2 separate regions of the Homo sapiens genome follow, and region 1 is linked to region 2. Evidence: promoter capture Hi-C in 16 types of primary human blood cells and fetal thymus (Javierre and others, 2016). All regions are on one chromosome and are shown on one strand. The core of a region is centred on a gene start or on the middle of the fragment in contact, and the rest is flanking DNA. Distances in the headings are between cores, read along the strand shown. Region 1 has its middle 13 kb from the start of ART3. Region 2 holds the start of USO1 (USO1 vesicle transport factor).

Region 1 (6,113 bases), core at 2,502-5,001, 340 kb after region 2:
GAAACAGCTGGATTGATTACAGCTTGAAGTTTGCCTTATCTGAGCATAGGTTGAACAGCTGGCTGTCCTTGATTGGCTGAAACTTGGTGATTGGCACAAGAGTAGATTACAGTCTGTTTACACATCCAGTTAGGTTACAGTTCACTGTGTATGAAGAAACCTTTAGGTTATAGTTCACAATGTATGGAGAAACCTTTAGGTTATAGTTCACAATGTATGGAGAAACCTTTAGACTGAACTTAAAATATGTAAAGAGACAGCTTTAGGCTAAACTTAATTTAACAGACTTTTTGGTTGCCTTTGGATTGGTGGGGCAGGGGAAGAATCTAATAGCAGATATTTGCTTTGCAAGGTCCAAAGATCAATTTTGTTTTCTTGCTGTCTTCTCGTTATTTTCTCTTGTTTTTTTTTCTTTTTTTTTTCCTGAGCTTTATTTGCATCTCCAGTCCTTTTCTCTATCCTTACTTTTTAATTGACTATAATATGGAATTGAATTTTTTAAAAAATCTGTTAAATTTATTTTTAAAAGTTTATTTCTTGGTCTTGCATTTAAAAGGCTGTGAATTGAACCTTTCTTCTTTAACTAAAAAAAACTGTAATTAAGTGGCTTTTTTCTTAAATATGTTCTCAACTAATTTTCCTCCTTGTAGGTAGCTTAAAGGAAAAAGAAATGTCCTTTCAGTACTCTCATTACATATTCAGGCAATCCCAATTTGTATGGACAACTAAATTAAAGTAACAAGTGACTCTGACAATTTAGAGAAATGAATTAGTAAAGTTTAGTAGCATTAAGCACAGGAGGATTTACTTAAGAGAAAAAGCAGGCAAACTTTATAAACACAAGTTGGAGAACTATCAAGTTTGTACATGTCTCACAGAGATGAAGAATACAGAATAAACCACTGGCCAAATATAAGTTAGATATGTAACACTAACACATAGAATTAGCAAAGAGGATGTTGTGGGTTTATATGGAAGAAATCTGTTTGTGAGTCACTGGTTAGGAAATCAGAACCTACTTTCCTATAGATGTCAAATGGTAAGGGTGATTGTTCAGTCTGAGAGGTCCCTCCAGGGCAAGGAACCTTGTCTAATTTATCTTCCATCTCATCCTGTTGCCTTGCATGGAGTCAGGTCTTAAAAAACTCATTTCCGTAGTTCCTGGTTTATAAAGTCTAATTAACATGTAAGATACCCCAAATTCAAGCCTTTGTCCTATTTTCTTCTTAACCTACTGATGTCAGATGTTTTTCTATTTTGGAACATAATACTGTTGTAGAATATTGTGGAATCATAAGTTACTGATTAAGTTACTGATATCATAAGTACATTGGTAATATATAACCAAGCCCAAAGAACCCTTATTTCATATCAGTTTGATTTATTTTGGCTGTGACAATCAACTGTTTTCTCTCTCATGAAAATCTCTTTTCTTGAGGCTTCTTATTCTCCTTCTCAATCTCCTTCTTGAAATCTTGTCTCTCTCTGCACCTAAATGCTAGTGTTCTCTAGGGTATTATGCTCTCTATCTGCAAGCCTACACACCTATTGGCTAACATGGTAGGCAGAATAATTATTCCCCAAAGATTTCCATGCCCTAATTCCTGGAATCTGTGAATATGTTATATTACATGGCAAAAGGAACACTGGACTTATATTATGGACCTCAAAATACATATATACATTGGGTGGACCCACTGTAATAACATGGGCACTTAAAAGAGGAAGAGGAAGACAGAGCAGTCAGTTAGAGAGATGCAGTGGAAGAGGCAGGAGGTATTTGATTATGAGAGATTCCACTTGCTGTTATTGGCTTTGAAGATGGAGAAAGTGGACCACAAACCAAGGAATGTGGGTGGCCTCTGGAGTCTGTGAATAGCCCTCAGCTGACAGTCAACAAGGAAACACAGGTCTCAATCTTAAGTCTTCAAGAAACTGCATTCTGCTAACAACCCGAATGAGCAAAGAAATTGATTCTCTTTTAGACTCTCAGAAAGTAACTTAGCCCTGCCAACACTTTGATTTTAGCCTACAGAGATCTATGTTAGGCTTCTGATCTAGGAACTTTAAGATAAGAAATGTGTATTATTTTAAGCCACTAAGTCATGATAGTTTGCACAGCAACAGTAACAAACTATTGCAGCTAATGACTCTCAAATTTAAATGACTATCTCAGATCTTTCTCTGAACTAGTCAGTTGCCTATTGGATAGCTTCTCTACAGTATCTGGCTGGAACCTCAAACTCATTACATTGAGATAAAACTCTTTTCCCTAAAACCTGCTCATATTTTTTATCTTGATGTTGCTCCTAACCATTCAGACTCCTTAGCCAGAAATCTGGGGGTCAGTTTAAACTCCTTTTCTCAAAATACACTATTTCTCTACACATCCCTATGCTATATAATTGATACCAAATCATTTTGATTTGGGGTTTATTACCACTGATTTAGGTCAAGCTCCCACCACTTCTCACTTGGATTTCTCAGGTAATCTCCCAACACATCTTCCTGCCTCTTGTTAAAATGTCTTGGTAATTTATTCTTCTGTTCTATGAAAGTGACCTTTTCAATCAGATTATGTTTCTCCTCTACTTCATGGTTTCCCATTGCCATTTCAGTCAAGTTCCAATTTCTAAGCATTACACACAAGGCGCTCTTTATGATCTGATTCCTCTTTCCTCCCCAACTTTTTAACTCTTTGTGTTCCATAAAACATATCATGCTGTCCAGCTGTATTAAATGGCTTGCATTTTCTTGAACATGTGCTATGTATGCCATCAGTGCCTTGTACATACTTTTTTATCTGACTGGAAGGCCCTCCTTTCTTTGTTTCCCTAACTCCTACTTCTTTAGTCTTCAACTGAATTGTCACTTTAGTTAGGGGCTCAGTAAATGTTGGTTTAAAGAGTAAATGAGAAGAATGCCAAAGAATAAGAATTGTGAACCACTGAAGTGGATTTTTACACGAATTTCTAGAGTCCCTTTCCCTAAAGGACAATTTTAGATGGCAATGTTTCTGGAATAGTTTGAGGGTAGCCTTTTGTTAGTTTTATGTAAATGCTAAGAAGAGAGCATTTGAGTTTGGTATTTGGAGTAGGAATAGACAGGAACTCACTAAAGAGTTACTTCAGAAGAGAAAGTCATTATGGATGATGGTCTCGTATAAGAAAGCTACCAGACCTACTCATGTAATCATCCACTGTTCTTATCTGCAAGAGGGATTACCCCTTTTAGTTTTGCTTCCTATTTTTTAAAAGCTAAGATATCCTGTTCCAGAGAGAGTAAGCTTACATTAAAAAGCATTAAGTATCTTTAGTTTTCTTTTAAATTTGACTTATGTTCTAATGATTGTTACTTCATGGGGGTTTCCAACCTTGGGAAAAAAGTTAATAACTATTTTTTTAGGTTTATTATGAGAACTATACAGTTTAGTCAATATAAAATATACAGTGCCTTGTGTGTAATTAAGTAGTTAATAAAGGCTAGCTATTAGTTGTTATAAATTATCGTTATTGCTAAGCATTTAAAAATGATCCACCATTTTGCAGAGATTTAAACATCTCAGAGCATCTCATCCTTATGTGAAAGAAAAATAAATCTTTTTTTTTTTTTTTTTTTGAGACAGAGTCTCGCTCTGTTGCCCAGACTGGAGTGCAGTGGTGGGATCTCGGCTCACGGCAAGCTCCGCCTCTCGGGTTCACGCCATTCTTCTGCCTCAGCCTCCCGAGTAGCTGGGACTACAGGTGCCTGCCACCATGCCTGGCTAATTTTTTGTATTTTTAGTAGAGATGGGGTTTCATTGTGTTAGCCAGGATGGTCTTGATCTCCTGACCTCGTGATCCGCCCACCTCAGCCTCCCAAAGTGCTGGGATTACAAGTGTGAGCCACCGAGCCCGGCCCCAAGTCACATTTCAAATGCTCAGTAGCTACATGTGGTGGCTAGTGGCCATTGAACAATACACTTCTAGCTATTCTCTCTGTAAGGAATGCTTTCCTACAGCTAATCACTTGTTTAAGTCCCTTACCTCCTTCAGGTTTTTGCTAAATTTCACTCTCTCAGTGAGGCCTACCTTGACCACTCTATTTAATACTATAGTGTGCCCCAACTCCCCACACTTCACACTTCTTCATTCTTTATCTCTTTCACTGCGTAATTACTAATTTATTATTTTCATTGTTTATTGCCTGCCTTCTTTTTCTCTACTACTTCATGGACGGAAGCTTCCTGGAGGCAGGGATTTTTATTTTGTTCACTGACAACATCCCAACACCTAGAATAGTGCTTGGCCTATAGTAGGTGCTCAGTAAACATTTGTAGATTAAATGTAATGAAGGAATGAGTCATTGCAAAAACTTGTTACAATTATAAATAAGCATATACTAGATTCAAGACATAATTCAGGAAGAGTTAAAAGCATTGCTGACCAAATCTCTCTTAACTAGGTCTTGAATATATTCTCTGTACCTTATACCATTTTAAGCTGGGAGTAATGGGGAGAGAAATGAGGAGTTTAAAATGAGATTAAAAGAAGCTTATAATCTGTAGTTAGGAAGACAAGATTCACAAAAAGAAACTAGGAAAAAATCCTGAATTTTGTTGAAAAAATTAGAAAATGGACTTACAATAAGGTCTCTCCGGTTGTGCCATATATATTCCTTTGATGAGAATTTCCCAATAGGTATTTAAGTAGTCATGTATTTATATATCATTATTTGACAGAGACTCGGAGAACATAAAAACAAGAAAGCTAAAAGTAATATAAAGCCTGCACTTGAAAATTAGTTTAAAACAATGATAGTGAAAAATAGAATAATTTTGGCACTAAACATTGAATTTATACAAATCTTTTAGAGTTTCATGTATTATACAAAGTTCTGAGGAAAAATTATTTTGAACCTAGAATTATATACTAGCCAACTGTTCATCAGATTCACATTTCAAAAATGAAAGCACTGAAAATGTTTATCTTCCATGCATCCTTTTTAAGGAAATAATTTCAGAATATATTCCTACAAAACAAAGATAAATATGAAGCAAAAAGCTGTAGATGCAGTAGCATGAGACAAAAAATAAATTAAAAAAATAAAACCACTGTAGAGTACAAGAAATGGAAAAAGTACCCAGGGATTCAATTGAAAGATTTTCTAGTCTCCTAGTTGTTGGCCTGGAGAGCAGTTTGTCCAGGTTAGAACTGGTCTTCAAGAATAAGAACAAAATGGATTCCAAGCAATAGAATTGGAAATAGAAGCACATTAGGTACACGATGGAGACAAATACTACTTTTCCCAACAACCACCATGATCACCACTACCATCACCACCAAAAAAGGCACTCAGAAACTAAAGGAAAAATAAAAAATTTTAGTGATCTAAATACAAAAGAGACAAAAGTGAGGCATGATTTTAAGGGATTAGTGGAGTATGGGAAAGGAATATTCATTTGATCTTGACATAAAAATGTTTTGTTTTGAGTGTGAATAGTGATCATGACATTGAAACAGCAGAGATGGAAATAAAATCCTAACTTGTGTCTTGTCTTTATACTAAAGAATATATAGCTGGTTGCAATAAACTTGCAGTAAACTATACTTTTGATTTTTAATTTTAGAATAGACCTTTACTTAAAGCATGGCTACAGAACAAAAAGCAAATGTTATTACATTTTGACAACATAAAGATAAAAGAACTACTGATGGAAGCTGGGAGGTGAAAGGCAGAAAGGAGGTGAAGGGAAGGGTAACAGTGCTAACGTCCTCTTATTACAAAATGAGTACCAAAAAGAGAATATTGAAAGTGGATGCTTTAAAATATACTAACAATATTGCTTCAATTATCAGTGTTGGTAGAAAGATGGGAGTTGGAATATTGAGTAAATTTTTTTTTTTTTTTGAGACAGGGTCTCACTCTGTCACCCAGGCTGGAGTGCGGTGGCAAGATCATGGGTCACAGCAACCTCCACCTTCCAGGTTCAAGCGATTCTCCTGCCTCAGCGTCCTGAGTAGCTGGGATTACAGGCACCTGCCACCATGCCTGGCTAATTTTTGTATTTTTAGTAGAGACGAGGTTTCACCATGTTGGCCAGGCTGGTCTCGAACTCCTGAGCTCAAGTGATC
Region 2 (5,716 bases), core at 1,995-4,494:
TGATCTCCCAGGCTCCAGCGATCCTCCCACACCCTCCCAAGTAAGTGGGACTACTGGCTGGGAATACAGGCGCATGCCACCATGCTCAGCTAATATTTTATTTTTTGTAGAGACAGGGTTTTGCCACATTGCCCAGGCTGGTGTTGAACTCCTGAGCTTAAATGATCCTCCCACCTTGGCCTCCCAAAGTGCTGGGATTATAGCCATGAGCTACGTCTTTAAAAACCTATATACGATACTGAAGGGGCTTATAACCTACCAAAATAATAAATAAATAAAAACCTATATATGATAGATTTCAAATACAAATGATCATTTATATTTATCCTCCCAAGCAGGCATAGACAACATTCCACCTTACTACCACCCCAACTAAAAAACAATCTTATGCAATTATATTTCGTTGTTTTTGCGAGTTTTCCACTAGAAAGTTAAGTGGGCCACTGAAAAAAGCAATTTGAAAAAATGAATTTCAAACCAATGAATTTTGTTCGTTGATCTATTGTCAGGTTTGGTTTAGAAAAAGATCACTCTTAATTTTGATTATATGTATTTTAATGATTCATAGGACTCTTATCCTGAATGCTTAGATTTATGAAAGCCAGAAGTATTAACAGTGCAAGTCAGGCCGTCACAATTTGTTCAAGTTTTCTCTTCCTTTATTAACTCAGGTAGTTCCTGAGCATCTACCATATTAAAGGAATTATACTAGATGATTAAAGGATGCAAACAGGAATACAACACAGTCCCTGACTTTTCTCCCTCTACAAAATCAGTAGAAGTGGATTAATATGTAACTCTTCCTCTGAAATAAGGAGTCTATTTCATGGTTGTTCTGTAGTGACAATGCCTCGGGGATCCCACCTTCATCACCTTTGCACCCAACTGTCCATCACTCCTGTGCAGGGGATGCTGCTGGGGAAGAAAACAGGTCAAATGCAGGGAAAATTCATAGTAAGCTGTTACTACTACACTCACGAAAGTATAGTAACCTACTTTACTCACTGAAGTACAGTAACCTACTGTACCCACCAAAGTTTAAAACAAAACAGGACATTTGACAAGGCTGGTGCCTTTAAACAACTTTGCTAAAATGTCAAGGCACTCTTTTTAATTATTAAATAAGAGGAGTAATAGACATTTGTGGCCCACTCCGTCTATGAGCCTCATTCCTGATGATGGGGTAGAGTGAGTTTCAGGGACAAGGTGAAGTGAGGTTCAGGGAGGGGTGAGGCTTAGGGGCTTAAGTGAAGTTCTTTGCATGCATTTCTTAGTAACAAAAATGCTGAGTAATTTACTGGTTACTTTTTTTAGGCTGCAACAAAATGCTCCCATGGAAAATGTCTACGGTAAAATGTCAAGTGTATAGCTTTAAAGCAGAGGACAATGCTTAGCGCACAGTATTTTTGGCAGTATGACCCCACCATTCTCCAAGTTGCCCAGGCTTAAAATGTTGGCACTAGGAAACACATAGCTTATGATGTCTTCCCTACAATTTCACTTTACAGATTAAAAAAAGGGAACCTCCTCTTAGTATAATATTCATATATTCTTTCAATAATTTATTCATTTATCCATCAATATCACCTTTTATGAGACAGTGGTAAGCAACAGAGATATAAAATGAATAACATAGTCCTGCCCTTAACAGTTTGGTTTAGCAAGCATTTATTCAATGTACACCATATACAGTATCAATAACTGCAAAGTGCTAACATATAGATGTGTACCTACATTTTAGGGAAAGCTTTCAAGAATGATGTCAGAGTTGAGCCTTAAGGAATTAGCAGGAGTTTGCTTGATGAAGAGAAAGGAAGGGAAGGGCATATCCAGGTCTGAGAAAAATGCCCAGAGTATGTGGGGGAGGCAGGAGCTGAAAAAGTAGGCAGGAGCTAAATCATAACAGGCCTGTATGACAAACTAAGGAGTTTGCACTTTATTCTGGACAGAATGGGGAACAACTGGAGGATTTTAAGAGGAATGACATGAACAGATGTTTTGTTGTTGTTAGTCTCACCCAAGGATGGACTGGAGATTGGACTGGAAGGAAGCCAGGGCTGAATGCAGACAAACTAATTAGGAGGCTGTTGCTGTCATCTCAATGAGAAATGATGAGAAGAACATAATCTATGTCACAGGCACAGAGGATGGAGAGCAGAACACCTATTTGAGAAATATTCTATAAATAGAAATGATAGGACATGACTATTGATTGGACATGTGTGGGTGGAAAGCCAGAGTCTAAGATTCTTCCCAGCTTCCTCTGTCTAGCTTAGGCAATTATTTGGACAGTGGTACTACTGAGCACGGCACGCACACAGTAGAAGCAGCATATTGACTTTTTTTCTTTAAGGGAGGCAGGGAAAGATGACGAGTTCAATTTTAAATGCTGAATCTGAGACCTGTGGGGAATCCAAGGGGAGAGGTGCATGAGTCAGTTAGCTAACTAGACCTGTGCTTTTTAGCCTCAAGAAATTTACAAGACTATTCCAGAAGCATGTGTACTGACAACCTCACTGCCAAAGGAACAGGCATACCAATTAGAGAAAATGACAATTTTTCATGTTAAAAAAAAAAAAACTGAAAACACAGGGGTTGAGAGTTAATAACGAAACATTATGTTACTCGCCAAACTGACACAGCAGAACAATGTATTTCTCTAGTAAGCTAAATGTAGGGTTTGATGGGTTTCCTCCTGACGACACTTGAAAATAGAGGTGTACCTGGTGTTTAGATCTAGGAATTCCTTTCAGCAGGTTTGAAGAGCAAGAGCTGAGAAATGCGCCCTCCAGTGGCAGTGGAATGAGGGGTGTCTAGTAACCCTTTTTACCACCAAACAAAGCCCTGTAAAGAAATGCAATTTACCGGGATCAGAAAGCCACAATGCTGGTACCAGTAAACCGTCAAACCAAGCGAACCCTCTCAGGCGCCAGGAAGCCTTACCTGTCACGTTGGCCAAAGGAAAATTTCACTTTCGACTCAACAAAATAAGACCTCAGATTTGATAGCTTGCAGTAAGTCCCGCTTGGCGACGATTAAACACCCTGCAAGTCGAAACGCGTAGTCTAATCAAATCCTCTCCAGCCTGCAGGGCCGGGCTTCCACCACGTGGGTGGCTGCGGCCAGCAGGATCAATCCGCGAAGGGTGGGGGTAGGAGGCGTGCCCCTGCGGTGGGAGGCGGGGTCTGCGCAGTGGGTGGGGCTTCGGCGGAACCTAGCTAAGAGGTTCCTCTCGCCTCCGCTCCCCTTTTGCCTTCAACCTTCGAGCCGCCACGTAATGCCACGTCCCCGCGCATGCGCATCTTGGCCGCTGCTGGCGGCTGTTTCCGGGCTTAGAGGGCTGGAGTGGCCGCCGAGTTGGAGGCGGTGGTGGCAGCAGTAGGAGTGTGTAGAGTGCGGGATTGGGGCCCAGGCCCTGCGGAGGGCGGGGGAAGTTGTCTTCTTTTTTTTCCGGAGGGGCCGGTAAACCTGGTGGCTGAACGGCAAGATGAATTTCCTCCGCGGGGTAATGGGGGGTCAGAGTGCCGGACCCCAGCACACAGAAGCCGAGACGGTGAGAGGAGCAGCGGGTCTGGGACTTGGGAAGGGGTCCGGGCAGGGACGGGGACGGAGCACTCGGAGACCCGAAGGTCACCTCCAGCGTCCCACCATGGAGGGGGCATCCACATGCCGCCTCCCCCTTTGCCCTCCTTCCGCTCCTGAAATCCCAGAGTTATTCAATCACGCCCCCAGCTCAGTCCCCATTGCTGCCGTTCGGCCGGACTGACGGCGGCCGCGCCCCGCAGCTCTGTAGGCCCTGAAGCTCGGGCTAGGAGAGTGGTCCGCAGGTGGTACCGCACGGGAAGGGACGGATGCGCGGCCGAGCTGGCCCGAACTGCCTCCCACGCCCCTCGGGGCCGTGGGCCCCTCCCTCTTTCTCTTTCGCTCGTCTGCACTGGCCGAGAGGAGCCTGAAGTCCTGCTCCCTCCCTCGCAGTCTGAAACTGGGGCGTTGGGGAAAACTGCGAGAAGGTTTAAAACCCAGCTGTTGGTGAGAGCATTTGGCTAAGAATAAAACGATATTCTTTGAAGGACAAATCCACCTGCTCCTGTCCCATCAACTGGAAGAGCGGTCGTTCTGCCTGGTGTTATTTGTTCAGATCCGGCTTTTCGGGCTCACCCAAATATATATCATTTGGCAAATGCTACCTTGAACGTAGTAGGGATCTTAAGCGCTCAAACTGCTTTGGGGACACGTCCACCGCTTTCTGCCTGAACTCCTAATGACATGATTTGCGGCGTTATTTAAAAAAAAAAAAAAATGGTTAGCCGCTGAAAACATTATTTAATAGTTGCTTAGATTCTAGGTTTAGAATACACTTATTTTGAAGTTTGGTTAGTGTTTAATGGAATCGAGGGTGTATGCCTTTTTGAAATAAACTTTTTATTTGAGAAGAATTTTAGATCTACATAAAAGAGACTAAGTATAACACTTTAATGGCTAACTTTGTTAATGGGATCCTGAGGGATAATATAGTAGCTTTCATTTGTCAGGCTCTTACCTTGTGCTAGGTTCTGTGCTGAGCTCTTTATATTCCACATTATGCTTTAATCGTTAACTACCCTGCAAGATAGGTGAGAGTATTCTCACCTTAAAAGTCAAAAAATGAGACTGAGAGGGGTGAAGTAGGCCGGACGCGGTGGCTCACGCCTCTAATCCCAGCACTTTGGGAGGCTGAGGCCGGCGGATCACCTGAGGTCGGGAGTTCGAGACCAGCCTGACCAACATGGAGAAACCCCGTCTCTACTAAAAATACAGAATTAGCCGGCCGTGGTGGCACATGCCTGTAATCCCAGCCACTCGGAAGGCTGAGGCAGGAGAATCGCTTGAACTCGGGAGGCGGAGGTTACGGTGAGCAGAGATCGTGCCATTGCACTCTAGCCTGGGCAACAAGAGCGAAACTCTGTCTCAAAAAAAAAAAAAAAAAAAAGGGGTGAAGTAACTTGACCAATGTCACACTGCTAATAATAGAGCCAGGATTCAACCAAGAGGTACCTTACTTCAAAGCCTTCACTTTATTGCTCATGCCTGTATTTCAATACTTTTTGGGAACTTTATATAGTATTACTAAAATTAACTGCAGCTAGTCGCAGTGACACAGGCCTATAATCCCAGCTAAGGGGATGCTAAGCCAGGAGGATCGCTTGAGCCCAGGAGTTTGAGACTAGCCTGGGCAGCATGAAGAGACTCCATCTCAAAAAAAAAAAAAATAACTGCGCAGGTCTGGTTAGAATTGTTTAAAGCATAAGATGAAAGCCGGTAAATCTGTTTCTTTCATTTGAAAATCACTTTTCTGTCTCTCACTGTAACACACGCACACATTTGGCTTCACTCATCCATTCCCACTTGGCAACAAGGCAGCCTGAGCTACCCTACTAGAAGATCATGTTCTGTCTAGATTACCAGAGTCATACCATAATCACAGCCCACCACTTTTTTGTCTGATATTTGTGTTTGTGGCACCAGGTTATGAAATATGGTTTATTACAGCTTGCTTTGTGGAGTTAGACTTTGATTTGAATCCTGGCTTTCCACCCCTGATTGGATTGGATATGTAAGAGATAGCTAATACCCTCTAAGTAAAATGAGGAAAATGCCTGCTTTTTAGGATGTAATGAAGATTAAGTGAAATAAGTAGAAAGAGCCTGGCACTTAGTAGATGTATAATGAGAGGTAA

The links. The method cuts DNA at HindIII sites, captures the fragments that hold promoters and counts their contacts. A CHiCAGO score of 5 or more calls a contact.
Region 1: a fragment that was not itself captured here is called in contact with the fragment with the promoter of USO1 in region 2 in 1 of 17 cell types (naive B cells); the score reaches 5.1 in naive B cells.

The regions. Positions count from the first base shown.
Region 1 is chr4:76,058,961-76,065,073 of GRCh38, forward strand. It overlaps a transcript of ART3 not described here. Among named protein-coding and RNA genes, the nearest start is that of ART3, 13 kb to the right of the region's middle. The HindIII fragment of the contact is 935 bases long and covers 3,285-4,219 here.
Region 2 is chr4:75,721,333-75,727,048 of GRCh38, forward strand. It overlaps USO1 (USO1 vesicle transport factor), which reads left to right and starts at 3,245. Exons shown (of 24, transcript NM_003715.4): 1 at 3,245-3,553. The coding sequence starts at 3,488. It also overlaps a transcript of G3BP2 not described here. RefSeq lists enhancers at 2,435-3,355, 3,356-4,275, 3,372-3,451 and silencers at 3,032-3,201, 3,536-3,713. The HindIII fragment of the contact is 5,085 bases long and covers 1,746-5,716 here.